2 separate regions of the Homo sapiens genome follow, and region 2 is linked to region 1. Evidence: promoter capture Hi-C in human tissues and cell types (Jung and others, 2019). All regions are on one chromosome and are shown on one strand. Each heading gives the region's core, a stretch centred on a gene start or on the middle of the fragment in contact. The rest is flanking DNA. Distances are from core to core; before and after follow the strand shown.

What was found. The method cuts DNA at HindIII sites, captures the fragments that hold promoters and counts their contacts. A contact is called where the count stands out against the background at its distance.
Region 2: a contact is called between a fragment that was not itself captured here and the fragment with the promoter of RNF6 in region 1, in 1 of the 25 tissues and cell types used here (dorsolateral prefrontal cortex).

The regions. Positions count from the first base shown.
Region 1 is chr13:26,218,202-26,224,925 of GRCh38, reverse strand. RNF6 (ring finger protein 6) reads left to right here and starts at 2,612. Exons shown (of 5, transcript NM_005977.4): 1 at 2,612-2,923; 2 at 3,596-3,678; 3 at 5,259-5,469; 4 at 6,320-6,415. The coding sequence starts at 5,277. RefSeq lists enhancers at 2,552-2,931, 2,077-2,958, 2,959-3,840 and a silencer at 3,382-3,431. The HindIII fragment of the contact is 8,375 bases long and covers 1-4,901 here.
Region 2 is chr13:27,434,097-27,441,590 of GRCh38, reverse strand. GTF3A (general transcription factor IIIA) reads right to left here. Exons shown (of 9, transcript NM_002097.3): 6 at 7,372-7,452; 7 at 6,557-6,786; 8 at 6,399-6,458; 9 at 5,768-6,158. The coding sequence ends at 5,994. MTIF3 (mitochondrial translational initiation factor 3) reads left to right here. Exons shown (of 5, transcript NM_152912.5): 3 at 1,142-1,602; 4 at 4,318-4,475; 5 at 5,698-5,948. The coding sequence starts at 1,143. The coding sequence ends at 5,916. Among named protein-coding and RNA genes, the nearest start is that of MTIF3, 13 kb to the left of the region's middle. RefSeq lists enhancers at 1,896-2,065, 5,907-7,106. The HindIII fragment of the contact is 5,770 bases long and covers 2,236-7,494 here.

The sequences.
Region 1 (6,724 bases), core at 1,363-3,862:
CAAGTATAGTAAATCTTAACAGTCATTTGGAATTAGCCCTTCACTAACTTTCAATCTCATTCATATACATATTTAATATCTTCAAACCAACATTTTAAACTGTATTTATACATTTAATATTTTATCTCATTCACAAGTACTTCAAATGTTACATGTAATTTCGTCTTTAAATCTTATATAATAATTTTTAAACTAATAATAAAACAATATGGGGAGCCTATATTTCTCTTTGCTGCTCTGATGCCATCCATAAACTTAGCAAGATTTCAACTTCAACTTAAAACTTGAAATCGAGTGCTCCATTTTGTTTTAAATTGTAATTAAGGCTGTCGTTTTATGAAGCCAAAATCTTTTAAACATGACAAGTACATAATTTACCAGATATACAGAGAATCCTTTTAATGTTATGGTTTTAATTATTTTAGATCTTTGTATTCCTAATTGTAAAAAGTCCAGGAGTTACATGAGGCATACACACTACAAAGGCCAGGTACCAATCCAATAAACAGAAATTAATTAGACCAGAGACCTTGGCAGGTTCTGAGACCTGGAGTAGATATCCAGAATGATTCATCTGTCTGTTCCAGCTGTTGTATCTAAGCCCCTCTTTGTAGTCATTTTGTCTTGGACTACAAAAACTGAAGCAAGGTGTTGGATTCAAGTTACATACATTACCTGATTCTCTACTCACAAAAACCTGCAACTTCCTACCTGGTAAATCACTTGATTGGATTTTTATTTAGACATTTTTATAATAGTTTTTTTTTTATTCTTAGGGTATATAATAGGAAATAGGAAAAATAGGAAGAGACACATATGTCTTTTCCACTCAACATGTAAAAAGTATTTGCACTTGGATTATTGCATTTGATTGCACTCTCCAAAATTCACAGATATTAAAAATGATTTCTACTTGTTATTTTCTATGATGTGTGTTCACAATATCTGAAGTCGTTGTACTGTGTGCATTAATCCCGTTTGCCAAAAGATTGCATTTTTCTCTGCTCATCTATGCAGTAGGCTGAGGAGAATGTTCTGCCAAGTGCTGTGCTAAGTTCTGGGATTACAAAAATGAATTAGACCATTTGATCACACTTAAGCAGTTCAGACTCTAGGTAGTAAAGACCTAAAAACAGAAAATCATCTTAAGTATTTGCTCAATGGCTCTTTTTCCATGGGAAAAGAGGGCAAGGACTTCATTCTATGAGGACATGACTGTCTGATTCACGGCTGTCATCACCAGCACCTAATACATAGTCACACTCACTATTTGTTAAATACATGAATACATGCTAAAATAGGGTTTTATATATAGAGGGAGTATGGGAGCCCCCAAAAGGGACATTTGCTTAGTTTTATGTGTAAATATCGGGCTGGAGGGTGAGGTAAGGGTGTTATTTCAGAGGTATCAGGAAAAATTCCTTAAAGATGAGAACTGAGCTGAGTTTTGGGAGACAGAGGAAATTAGGTAAAAGTGGAGTTGGGGGTTGCTTAGGAGTTCCCATATCTTGTGGCGGAACTTCAAGCAGTTTCGGAGTGCCAAGACAACAGCCTGTAAATGTAAGCAGAAGAAAGATCTGGAAGGGCTTTCTAGGCTGTTTTATATATTTCCATTTTAGTATCCATATCCATATGCTTATTTTAAACACTTGTCCATAGATCCTTACTACACTGGTAGCTCATTGATGCTAAGGACTGCATGTAGCTTGTTATCCAGGTGCCCAGCATAATAATGGGGATATGGTAGTTCCTCAAAAGTTAATGCAGAAATGAAAGAACAAACGGAAGAATAACAAGTAACGGCATTGTGAGCACTCTCCAGTGATGAAGTCATCAGATGGTAGGGATGTCAGGAAAGGGGACTATACCAGGTTAGACAGAGACCTACTCAGCATCTTAACTAACGGTGAGGTAAGTTTAGTAAGCCTCACATCTCAGAAATAAAATCAGAGGGAGGAATGTTGGGAGTTTCAAACTGCTTTCCTAGCGGGAAGGTGAAAAAACACAAAATATAGTGGGGTGCGGTGCCTCATGCCTGTAATCCCATTTTGCTGAGGTGAGAGGATTGCTTGAGGCCGAGTACGAAACCAGCCTGGGCAACATAGCGAGACCCCCGTCTCTACAAAAGAAAAAATGTGAAATTAATGGCAAGCGCCTGTAGTTCCAGCTACTGGGATGAGGAGGGAGGATCGCTGGAGGCTGCAGTGAGCTACGATCGCTCTAGCCTGGGCGACAGGATGAGACCTTGTCTCAAATAGAGATAGACAGACAGACAGACTTCAGAATTTATTAGGGTTTGTAATTTCCAGGTTCCAAAGCACAGCAAGGGAAAGGGCCTGGCTGGGTAGTACGTTACACCCGGAAGTAAAGAGACGCATACACCGTTGGGTGCACTTTATAGTCTGGCTGGCAAACGAGCGACACCGACGCGCAGAGTTAAGTGCTGGGACTTCCCAAGCCTGGAAAGCAGACCGTGTCTCTGCAACTACGCGGCTGCCACGAGCGCTGAGCGGCCGGGCATTTGGCCTCGAGGAGGAGGCACTGTAAGGGCGGCGCAAGAGGGCGGAACGCGGGACGCCAGGCACCCTAGCTCCCGACGGACGCAGTTTTCAGTTGCACGGGCGAGCTCCGGGCCGGCTGCGGAGCGACTCCCCGCCGCCAAGTGGGCGGCGTGGCTGTCGGGAAAGAAGGGCTGGGGCCTGCCGTTCTTCCTCCCGAGTATCCCCTCCAGCTGGACGACCCCACGCTGCAGCACGGGCTTCCGGCTTCTCTCCTCAGTGGCCAATTCGAGGGCACAGCGGGCTCCGGAGGCGCGGCGGCAAGCCTATCCCGCCTCCCAACCACAGCCTCCAGCACCCGAGAGAACGGCCGCCCACAGCACACGTTCTCCGGACAGGAGGGCGAAGGCCCAAGACCTGGAGAGGTGGGCTCGAGGGAAAGATCTGGGTCCCACCACTACTTCCTGGAGACGCCGGGGAAAGCAGGCCATCCTTCGAGCCACCCATCTCTTCTCCGATTGGTTAACTGCCTTCTTATTGCGCTCCGCTGGCTGGTGATTGGTTGGGATGCACCGTCTATCACCTGCTTCCTTGTGAGAATCTAGGTCTCTAAGGGAAGCGTTACTTGAGGCTCGGTTGGGAAGAGGTTGGTTGGGCCTCTTGAGCCCACTTTATTTATCGTAGTGGGGATCGTCCCCCGGCGCGAGCTTCCGTCGCAACGGCCGGGAAAGAAACCAGTAGCGGGACGGAGGGCGGGGGTGGCAAGAAAGTCAAGGTTTAGAAGTAAGCCGGAGACGCCTAACCCTGGTAACATCCGAATGGGAACGGGATAGGAAGGAAGGCCTTTGAGAGAGGAGGCGTAAACCCAGGAACAGTGACAGTGTAGGACGAAAGGCCTAAGTTTGTTGCGGAAGGTAGGGGCCTTGCGGGAGGTTTTCGTGACCTAATTGTATGGGGATCTAATTTTCTAGATGTGTCTAACAAAATCCACTGGAGAATTTGCTTTGGCTTTGCAGCAGAGTGGGGAGACTACCACCCGTTCCTGGCCTTTAAAGAAACAGTTTATTGAATTATTCAACTCTCTTTTATTGCTTCAGATGGGCAGCTCTCAAAAAAGGCACAAACAATTGAAGGATGGATACCATGGCATATGTTAAAAGCGTGTTGAAAGGAAAATAAGGTATTCGCTTTGTTTTCATTGTGATTAACTGTATAAGAAAATTACCTTTAAGGAGAAGCTCAAGTTTTAAATAATATTAGGGTAACTTGATTTTATGATAGGCTTCAACTTGTAAAATTATTTATTACAAAAATCCTATTATTGCTGTACCTACGAAATATGCTCTTTGCTAATTATGGTCTTAATCTGAAGATAGAGATCTTGAGTTTTTAGTAGTGTTAATTCATATTTGAGTGGATAATGTTACTAGGTCATTTGTTCAAAATGACATAATAAAATAACCACAGTGAAAAAAATCCTTGAATTTGTAATTTAGTGTTACAGGTGAAATTGAATAGTTGCTTACTCCAACAGTATTTTAGACTTGTAGGCTAATTTCACCTTATATTTAAAGCAGCTTGCTTATTAAATACCTAGTGTATTTCGAGAGGCAGAGTTGCACAGTTGCTTCACTGGTAGCCTAGCCATTTGAGCCTCCAGCCTCTACTGAGTCAGGTGCTGTATTACTCATACCCTTTAGTGACATGCCAGAAATTGTCGAGGAATAGTTTATTTCATCTGCAGAACACCCAAATTAGCTCTTAACAGCAGACCTGGTCCTACCCTGGAAAACTCTAATCAAGGATTGGGGATGAGATTTGGGCATCTAGATTTTTAAAAATACCCTTAAGTGAGTTTGAGAACCATTGCTTTAGTGTGACTTACTGAATAGATGTATTTAAGAAATTCTAAAATATTTGTGAAACAAACATCTTTCTCTCTTGATTTCCATGTAATTTAAAAGTGAGCTTCTCAGGAGTGACACTTAAATATAATCCAAAAATAGTGGTTTCTTAGGCAAAGTCAGGAAGTTTCACTGGCATTCTGAAACTCCTGGGACTAACCATTCCAGGCTTAAGGATGAGGCTTGATATGGGGTGATACAAAGTGCTCTGATGCACTTTCACAATCCTTGAGCCATACATGATGTCTTGTTTCCTGTTGGGTTTCAAAGTCTTCCTGGTAAGCTTTAATAAGAGACCACCTTCCAGTTTGTTCAGTAGATATTAATTAGGCTAAATGATTTTCACCTCATCAAAGTGCAGTGGGGGATAATATTACATTCATGAGCCTTATTTTGGAAAGAATACCTTGCTGAAAACAAATGTAAATTATATCATCCCAGTATCCCTTTGCTCATTAAGTGAAGAATGTGCATAATTCAAGCCTAAAATTTGTAATTAATGTGAAGTACCCAGATCCTGAAACATAAATGAGGACTTCTGGATCAACTTTTCCAGATCGTCAACATGGTCAAAAATGAGATAATCACTATGGTATTCAGGCATGAGCATTGTGTGGTAAACCCAAATCCAGTCTGACTTAATGGCTTTAGGCAAAGAAGTAAGTGCCAATTGTGTTGTATTTCCTAGAAGCTGTTTTTCATTTTATATGTAAGCTTCTCACTGCAAGATTTGGCAAATACAGTATTTGGGTAGGGGACAACATTTAAAAATTAAGAAAAACTGCAAGTTAAAAATACAAAGCCAAATGTGGTCCATGACTTAACACCTTGAATGTTGTTTATATTGTTTGAACAGAAAGCCAGGAATCTCAGGATGAATCAGTCTAGATCGAGATCAGATGGTGGCAGTGAAGAAACCTTACCTCAAGACCATAATCATCATGAAAATGAGAGAAGATGGCAGCAAGAGCGTCTCCACAGAGAAGAGGCCTATTATCAGTTTATTAATGAACTCAATGATGAAGATTATCGGCTTATGAGAGACCATAATCTTTTAGGCACCCCTGGTAAGAGATGGGTAAAAGAGGAAACACCCTTTTTTCATCATTTAGATGGAAGGATTTCAAGATAAGGAGAATTGGTATTCTTTTTCCTTGCTTCTCTTTATGAAAATATAGTATATTGTTTTTGTGAGTTTAAGAACTTTTTAGTATAATAAAGTAGAAAATCACTGGCTTCTGTATTTTATAAGGTGAAAATAGGGGACATGGAGCACTATTATACAAATGCCAAACTAAGAAACAGGTTAATGTACATAATGGTGTTAAGTATTTACATATATGGTCCTATTTGTAATTTTTATACAAATAAAATATGACTTAAAACCCAATTTGAACTCATTTGGGGTATTATAATTTATTTATTCAGCTGAATTAATAGCTCCCCCCAAAGCCCAATGTGTTCCATAAAGTTTTTACAAATGAACTAATGGAAATTTGTATGTTTATATATTGTGTGTTTGTATATTGATGACCCATATAATGAAGTATTTGGGATAAAATTCAAGTAAATATTTGAAGTTTTCTCTATAAATGCTCCCTTAATTTCTTTTTAACTGACAAAAATCCACAGTTATAGCTTATAGATTCCTAAGTGTATCAACTGGCAGCACTTTACCAACTATTCAAATTAAATCTTATTTTAATAATTTTTAATAAAAGATTAATAAATGAAGCACAACCGAATTGATGCACATTTGTACCAGTTGAATATTTTTAACTGTCTTCAATTTACAGAACATATGAAAGTAATAAGACATTTGTCTTCTATAGGTTACTAAAGATTAGTCTTACCCTTCATGAGGTCTCATAAAACTTAATTCAGAATTCTTAAATGAGCAGTTTTTCATTGTTTTAGGAGAAATAACATCAGAAGAACTGCAACAGCGGTTAGATGGCGTCAAGGAACAACTAGCATCTCAGCCTGACTTGAGAGATGGAACGAATTACAGAGGTACTATGGAGTCCTTTCCATAAGGAACAGGCTTGATTGGAGCACTTGCAGAAATGAAATTCTTAGACCTTGTATAGTATGTTTGTCTTCAATTTTTTCCAGTTTTAATGTGATACTCATTCAGATAATATATATATGAGTAGTAAAGCAGTATGGTTAAGCAGTATAGGACAGAGGAATGAATGCAAAGATGTCTTAAACACACAGATTGCCTTCAGAGAGCTTTATGTAATAATATACAATTAAGTTAATTCCCAGCATGCTTCTTTTTAATCTTGGAATGTACACATTACTTTTTCTAAAGTGATA
Region 2 (7,494 bases), core at 3,871-6,370, 1.2 Mb before region 1:
CTTCAAATTCAGTCTCATAACCATGAAGTAAAACCACTGTCACCATACATGCCTCTGTTAACATTTGGTAGTAATTAACACCTGCCTTACCTTGAGAATGATCTTTATAGTTTATGAGGTTAGCACTTTGATTTATGTCACAGTGTTTTCTGACAGGCTCAGTTATTCTTGCAGTGGGCTGGCTTCCTTCCTGGAGAGGTCCCTTTCCCATAGTGTGTTCCTATCTGCTATATACCATCAGATGTATTGAAAAATTGTTAACAGTTAATTATATTAGAAGTTTATCAATTGGTGTTTATGAATCACCAAGCATTTTATGTACTGCATCCTCATAAATAAAGCCCTAAGATGACACTCGCTTTTGGAGTTGGCACTACAAGATGCATGAGAAATACAGTTGATCCTAGAACAACACAGGTTTGAACTGCATGGGGTCCACATATATGTGGATTTTCCTCCACCTTTGCCACCCCTGAGAGAAGACCAACCCCTCCTCTTGCTCCTCCTCCTCAGCCTACTTGATGTGAAGACAATGAGGATGAAGACCTTTATGGTGATCCACTTCCACTTAATAGTAAATATATTTTCTCTTCTTTATGATTTTCTTAATGACATTTCTTTTCTCTAGCTTGCTGTATTGTAAGAATACAGTATATAATACATATGGCATACAAAATATGTGTTAATCAACTGCTTATGTTATTCATAAGGCTTTCAGTCAACAGTAAGCTATTAGTAAGTTTTTGAGGAGTCAAAGTTATACACAGATTTTCAACTGCACAGGGGGTCTGTTTCCCTAACTCCCAAGTTGTTCAGGGGTCAACTAAGTAGTCAAATGAGATCATGTGTACAGAAAAAAAAAAAAAGTGAAACCAAAATGCTATGTAAATCTGGTTTATTCTAATAGCCACTTGTCTTGGGGACAGTATCACCATGAGTTAGTCTGGCCAGAGTCACCTGCTAGTCCGCTTTATCAGTGTAGACTTCCTGTGTGTGGATCTGAAAGTCTAGAGAACAGCATTTCCCTCACACTTGCAGTTACAGCCTCCACAACCTCACACACACCCTGCCATGTACCACAATGTCAGACCAAGGGAATAAGTGATTGAATTTTAATGAACTCTTCTTACTACTTTCTTAGGATGGCTGCTCTTTTTCTAAAGAGGTTAACACTACAAACTGTAAAGTCTGAAAATAGTTGCATTAGATGTTTTGGTAAACACATCCTGCAAAAGACAGCACCAGCACAGTTGTCCCCTATTGCTTCTGCCCCAAGACTCTCCTTCCTAATTCATGCAAAAGCCTTTAGTACCGCTGAAGACACCCAGAATGAAGGAAAAAAGACAAAAAAGAATAAAACAGCTTTTAGTAACGTTGGAAGAAAAATTAGTCAGCGAGTTATTCACTTATTTGATGAGAAGGGCAATGATTTGGGAAACATGCACCGAGCAAATGTGATTAGACTTATGGATGAGCGAGACCTGCGACTGGTTCAAAGGAACACCAGCACAGAACCTGCAGAGTATCAGCTCATGACAGGATTGCAGATCCTCCAGGAGCGGCAGAGGCTGAGGGAGATGGAGAAGGCGAACCCCAAAACTGGTAGGTATTTTGCTGTTGGCTCCCTGAATCCTTTAAGAGCTACAAATCAGCAGTTTAAATTCTAGCATTTGTCAAGGTGCCTGTGACAAGAGGGAAATGAGAAACTAGAAAATTCATGATTCAACCACCATTCCCAGTGTCTGTCTTTCCTCCTTTATCCTGCACTTACTCCTGTTCCCTTTTTTTCACTGTTTTTCCACAATACCCTGCCCATTATCTCTTCCCTTTAAACCTGTGTAAAATGTGGGAGAAACCAGGCAAACAAACCAAAGTGAAGAGAACTCTTTCCCCTGTCCTGTGGCCTTCTCCCAATGCCGCAGCAAGCTGAGTAGCCGATGGGGTGAAACAGAGTGAGATTAGGAGGGGTACATTCAAGTTCCCTGCCCTCTGCCGGGCCACTCATTTAACCTCCCTCCTTTTGTTTTTCTTCCCCTTCTTCAACTCTAAAGTGGAGGTGTTTGGTTAATTATCTGGAAGCACCTTTTTATTTTTTTGAGATGAGTCTCTGCCTGCCGCCCAGGCTGGAGTGCAGTGGTGCGATGTGTGCTCACTGCAACCTTCGCCTCCCAGGCTCAAGCGATTCTCCTGCCTTAGCCTCCCCAGTGGCTGGGATTACAGGCGCCCGCCACCACGCCCGGCTAATTTTTGTATTTTTAATAGAGAGGGGGTTTCACCATGTTGGCCAGGCTGGTCTTGAACTCCTGGCCTTAAGTGATCTGCCCTCCTCGGCCTCCCAAAGTGCTGGGATTACAGGCGTGATCCACTGCGCCTAGCCTGGAAGCACCTTTTCGACTCTGAAGTGATTCACAGAGCATCTCCCATGCCAAAGCATTGTGTTGCAATATCAGTAGCAACACTCTTAGATATACAACCAGTCACTTGACGAGGCACTTGTCATTTAAGCCTCACAGAAGTCAGGAATTGGATATTAAGCAAAGATGTTTGTTTTTCATAGTTCCTAAAAAGTGCCAATCATTATGAAAGTTCAATGGATGGCGCACGGGGACAGGCATCAGATGACTGCTCCCAGCACTGCATCGTGAGGTTGTGTGCCTTCAGAAAACCACATGTTATCTGCGGCTCAGTTTTGTAATGCCACATTTAACAAGGATGTTGACTGGAAAACAATATTCAGAAGAGACCAACCAGGGAGGATAATGACGTCAAACTATGTCACTTAAAAAAAAAAAGGTCACTGGGCGTGGTGGCTCACGTCTGTAATCCCAGCACTTTGGGAGGCCAAGGCAGGTGGATGGCTTGAGCTCAGGAATTCAATACCAGCCTGGGCAATATAGCAAAACCCCATCTCTACAAAAAATTTTAAAATTAGCAAGGTGTAGTGGTGCAAACCTGTGATCCCAGCTACTTGGGAGGCTGAGGTGGGAGGATCACTTGAGCCTAGGAGGCAAAGGCTGCAGTGAAGAACCATGATCATGCCACTGCACTTCAGCCTGGGTGACAGAGCGAGACCCTGTGTTTAAAAAAAAAAAAAAAAAAAAAAAAAACAGTCTTGCTCTGTTGCCCAGGCTGGAGTGCTGTGGTGTGATTTCGGCTCACTGCAGCCTCCATCTCCTGGGATCCAGCAATCCTCCCACCTCTGCCTCCCACACAGCTGGGACCACAGGTGCACACCACCATGCCTGGCCTTTTTTTTTTTTTTTTTTTTTTGTAGAGATGGGGTCTCGCTATGTTGCTCAGGTCTTGAACTCCTGAGCTCCAACGATCTGCCTGCTTCAGCCTCCCAAAGTGCTGGGATTATAGGCGTGAGCCAGCACACCTGGCCCCCAATCTTTATGATGAACCCTGGTGCATACTCTAGGGTCTATGAACCTAAATGGATCAAACTGCTCAGCAGCAGTGTATGCAGTTTCTCTACCTCCTCCCTCATTTGTCATTTTAATGGTGAGAAATTAATGTGTATTTCACTTTTTTCTTCTGTGAATTGCGTGTTTATATTCCTTTATTTTTCTACGTAGATGGTTTTTCTCCGATTTATAGGGTTCTCTGTTGTGTATGATGGAAAAAACCGTATCCCAGTTAGATTTTTCATTTTGCCTTTTTTTCTTAATGAGTTCCATCCCCTATCCTGAGATCACAAACCATTCTGTCTTTTCTTCTGTTTGTTTTAAAGTTGTATTTTTCACCTGTAGAACATTAGTATACCTGGGGAGACCTAACTTTTTGTCATCTATAAACTTCTCAATTGTCCCAACACCTTTATTGAGTGGCCGGTTCCTTCTCTATAATTTTCCAGTAGGCAGGATTTCTGGAGACAGAGGGCATGAACACAGGATGTAGGGACCCTTACCTGTCCAACAGTCTGGCTGACCCCTTATAGCAAGGAGAGCATCTCAAAAGGAGTGGGTAGTGCACTCCCAGATGCCAACCCACAGCTGATAGATAAGGATGTTAAGTGCACCATGAAGCCAAACTTGATCCTTTAAACGACTATCTTTTGGTGTTCTTTCAACAAACGATGGTTAACAATAAATGGAAGCATTTCAGATTTTAAGTACCCTTCCAGGGCAGGTAAAAAATTGGTACCTTTATGTGTATCTTCCCCATTTGAAAAGACATTTACTGGTCTGTGAAACTGAAAGCCAGATGAGAAGATTGTCAGGTGGCAACCTAGGATTTTATGATGGGCATGTTGGGAAGTTCAGGGTTCACAGTGGACTAGTCAGTAGTCCTTGCACCCTATCTGTTTCAAACCAGGACCAACCCTGAGAAAGGAACTGATTTTGTCTTCAAATATTGGACAACATGATTTGGACACAAAGACTAAACAGATTCAGCAGTGGATTAAGAAAAAACACCTAGTCCAGATTACCATAAAGAAAGGAAAAAATGTAGACGTGTCAGAAAATGAAATGGTAAGTAAAGAAGGTACAAGCCACTGCTTGTGCTTTGGGTCTTCTGATCTAAAAATACAATTGTAGGCCAGGCGCGGTGGCTCACGCCTGTAATCCCAGCATTTTGGGAGGCCAAGGTGGGCGGATCACGAGATCAGGAGATTGAGACCAACCTGGCTAACATGGTGAAACCCCGTCTCTACTAAAAATACAAAAAATTAGCCAGGCGTGGTGGCGGGCACCTGTAGTCCCAGCTACTGGGGAAGCTGAGGCAGGAGAATGGCGTGAACCCGGGAGGCGGAGCTTGCAGTGAGCCGAGATCGCGCCACTGCACTCCAGCCTGGGTGACAGAGCAAGACTCCGTCTCAAAAAAAAAAAAAAAAAAAAAAAATTGTAGAAAATCTGAAATATAAAGACAAAGTGACTGGTAATTCTTCCACCCAGTGATGTTAACAGCTTTCTAGTTTGCTTTTCAAAACTAAGCATACTGTAGATATAGTTTCCATTACAGCGTATTTTGCCATATGAACACATTATTCCTTAAAAGCAATATACTATTGTTTTATAAATTGTAGAATAACCCTTAAACAGGAAAATTAGAAACTTTATAGATTTTTTGTTTCTTCTTTGTACTTATAGGGGCATTAATTACGTAGACTGTCTTCTAGAAAGTGTGTAGTTTCCAATCCCATAAGTTTATGGAATACCTATTTTGCTTTTTTTTTTTAAAAGTTAGATAACTTTATCATCCACTAAGGGTATCCTTAGTAATCCAGCTCCACAGTAGAGTCACTTAAGCATAGGTCGCAACCCAGCTGATGCAGAATTTCTTGAGCCCAGGTATCCATTTGTTTCAGTCACTGAGAGAGACTCTGTTAGGGGCAATAGAGAGTGCTGAGAACTGCTCGGCTGACACCTTGGGGATGAGGAGGTATTTTGCCAATGCCCAAACCCAGTGCTTTCTGTTTGTGGGAGAGGGTAATGCTGAGCCAAACGTAGCCTCTTCGTGCCATGACGAAGTGGAGATTTAAAATTAGGAAGCATTCAGCATGTCAGTTTAGTTACATGGTGTTATTGTACAGATTTCAGTCAACTTAACCAGATACGTATGAACTGATTAGCTAATCACTTAACCGACAGCAGCAATTCAAGGGTGCCAGTTTTTGTGAATGTTCAAGCAGAACATTAGAAAGCACCAAAGCCTCTGATTTTAAATTAATCTTTGGCTGTTTCCCTTTTTTAGGAGGAGATATTTCATCAAATACTCCAGACTATGCCTGGAATAGCTACATTCTCATCTAGGCCACAAGCTGTTCAAGGAGGAAAAGCTTTAATGTGTGTTCTTCGTGCTTTCAGCAAAAATGAGGAGAAGGCATATAAAGAAACTCAAGAGACCCAGGAAAGAGACACTTTGAACAAAGACCATGGAAATGATAAGGAATCAAATGTTCTGCATCAGTAATTTTAATAAAGAAAAGCATGCTCTGAGAGAAAGCTCGCTCCTTGGTCTGCAGTCCTTTAAACAAAGCAGTGCAGTTCTTAGCCAAGGGTAAGTACTGCAACTGTCGAGAGCATCTTGTCTTCCACACAGTTGGGTGACTCTCCGTTTTGACACAAAGATAAGCCTTGCCCTTGTTTCCTTTTGGGAGGGATATATCCACTGAGATGAGAGGCCAAACTCCGTTTTTCACGAGATTTTTTGACCTTTGGGAATAAGGAAGACACACGATTAGAATTCAAAATCAAAACTGTCTGAGTTAATTTTACGATAGTCATATGTACCAGCAGATATAGTGTACAACATTGCTTTATGAGGAAGTAAAGTCTTCAACAGTAGTGCAGACTCAAACAGTAAAGCAGGTGAAAAGAATTCCAAACAGACTCCTTCTGGCCTTAAACAATTTCCACTTGAAAACTAAGCTTGCCTAAGTAGTTTCAACTTACTTTGAGCTTCATTTTCTTCTTGTCAGGATCATGTACAACAGCATGCCTAGTGAGACTTTGCTACAATGAAAGAGAAAGTTATTAATGAAATATTAATATGAAAACCATGTTGTGAAAGCATAGACTATAGGACCATGAGTATGAGGGTGAGTGCTTACTTTCATTGCAAATGTTTTGCCACAGCCAGCATGTTCACACACAAAAGGGCGGCTTTCCTCATGGAAGGAGAGGATATGGCTTTGGAGATTAAACACAGTTGTATAGGTTCTTCCACAGCCTTCTCTTGGACAGCGACATACATCCCTTTCTGGGGCATGAGTTTTCATGTGTTGCTTAAGGTAATCTTTGCGTTTAAATGTTTTCCGGCATACTTCACATAGTATTTCCTCTGGTGGGACAGACAGACAAATTTCACAAATTTCCCCAGATATTACCATTTAGAAAAAATTAATACCTAATATATAAGTAACATTCAGTGCCTGAAACCTGATCACTATATACAAATCAGAAATTCCCAAGGAAACAACCCCAGTTTTTATCACCTAGGAAGTTTGTCTCAATTCTCTGAAGTTCTTAAATGCCACACAGTCATTGTTCACTTGCCAAGAGGCAGGGCTCTCAGGAAGGTGACTGTGGGGAGGTACAGAAAATGAAGCAGACCAGTGTCCTTCCTTGTCCCCCAGTATGCAGGGTACTGTTTCCCAGGCGGTCCCACAGAACAGCAGTGCCTCCCGAAATTCTTCACTACAGACCTGCCACCGCCTTCAGCATGCTAATTGTGCATGGTGGGGTGGCTCAGAGACCTGGCACAGCTCTGCTCACCTTTCCAACAACATCATACCCAGCACTTCACAAAATATCATAGAGAAACCCTTTTACTTTAAAGCACACAGCATTTCACTCTTGAAAAGCACTAAATCAGTTCTGTGGGGACAAACATTTACACCATGCCTGCCATTCATGCCTGCCTTACCTTTATGGGTTTCTCTCACATGTTTCAGAAGTTCCGTCCATGTTTTTGCCACAAAGGAACATCCTTTTTGACATACATAGCCTATTAAAAAAATTGGTGCATTGTCTGTCATGAATACTCAGT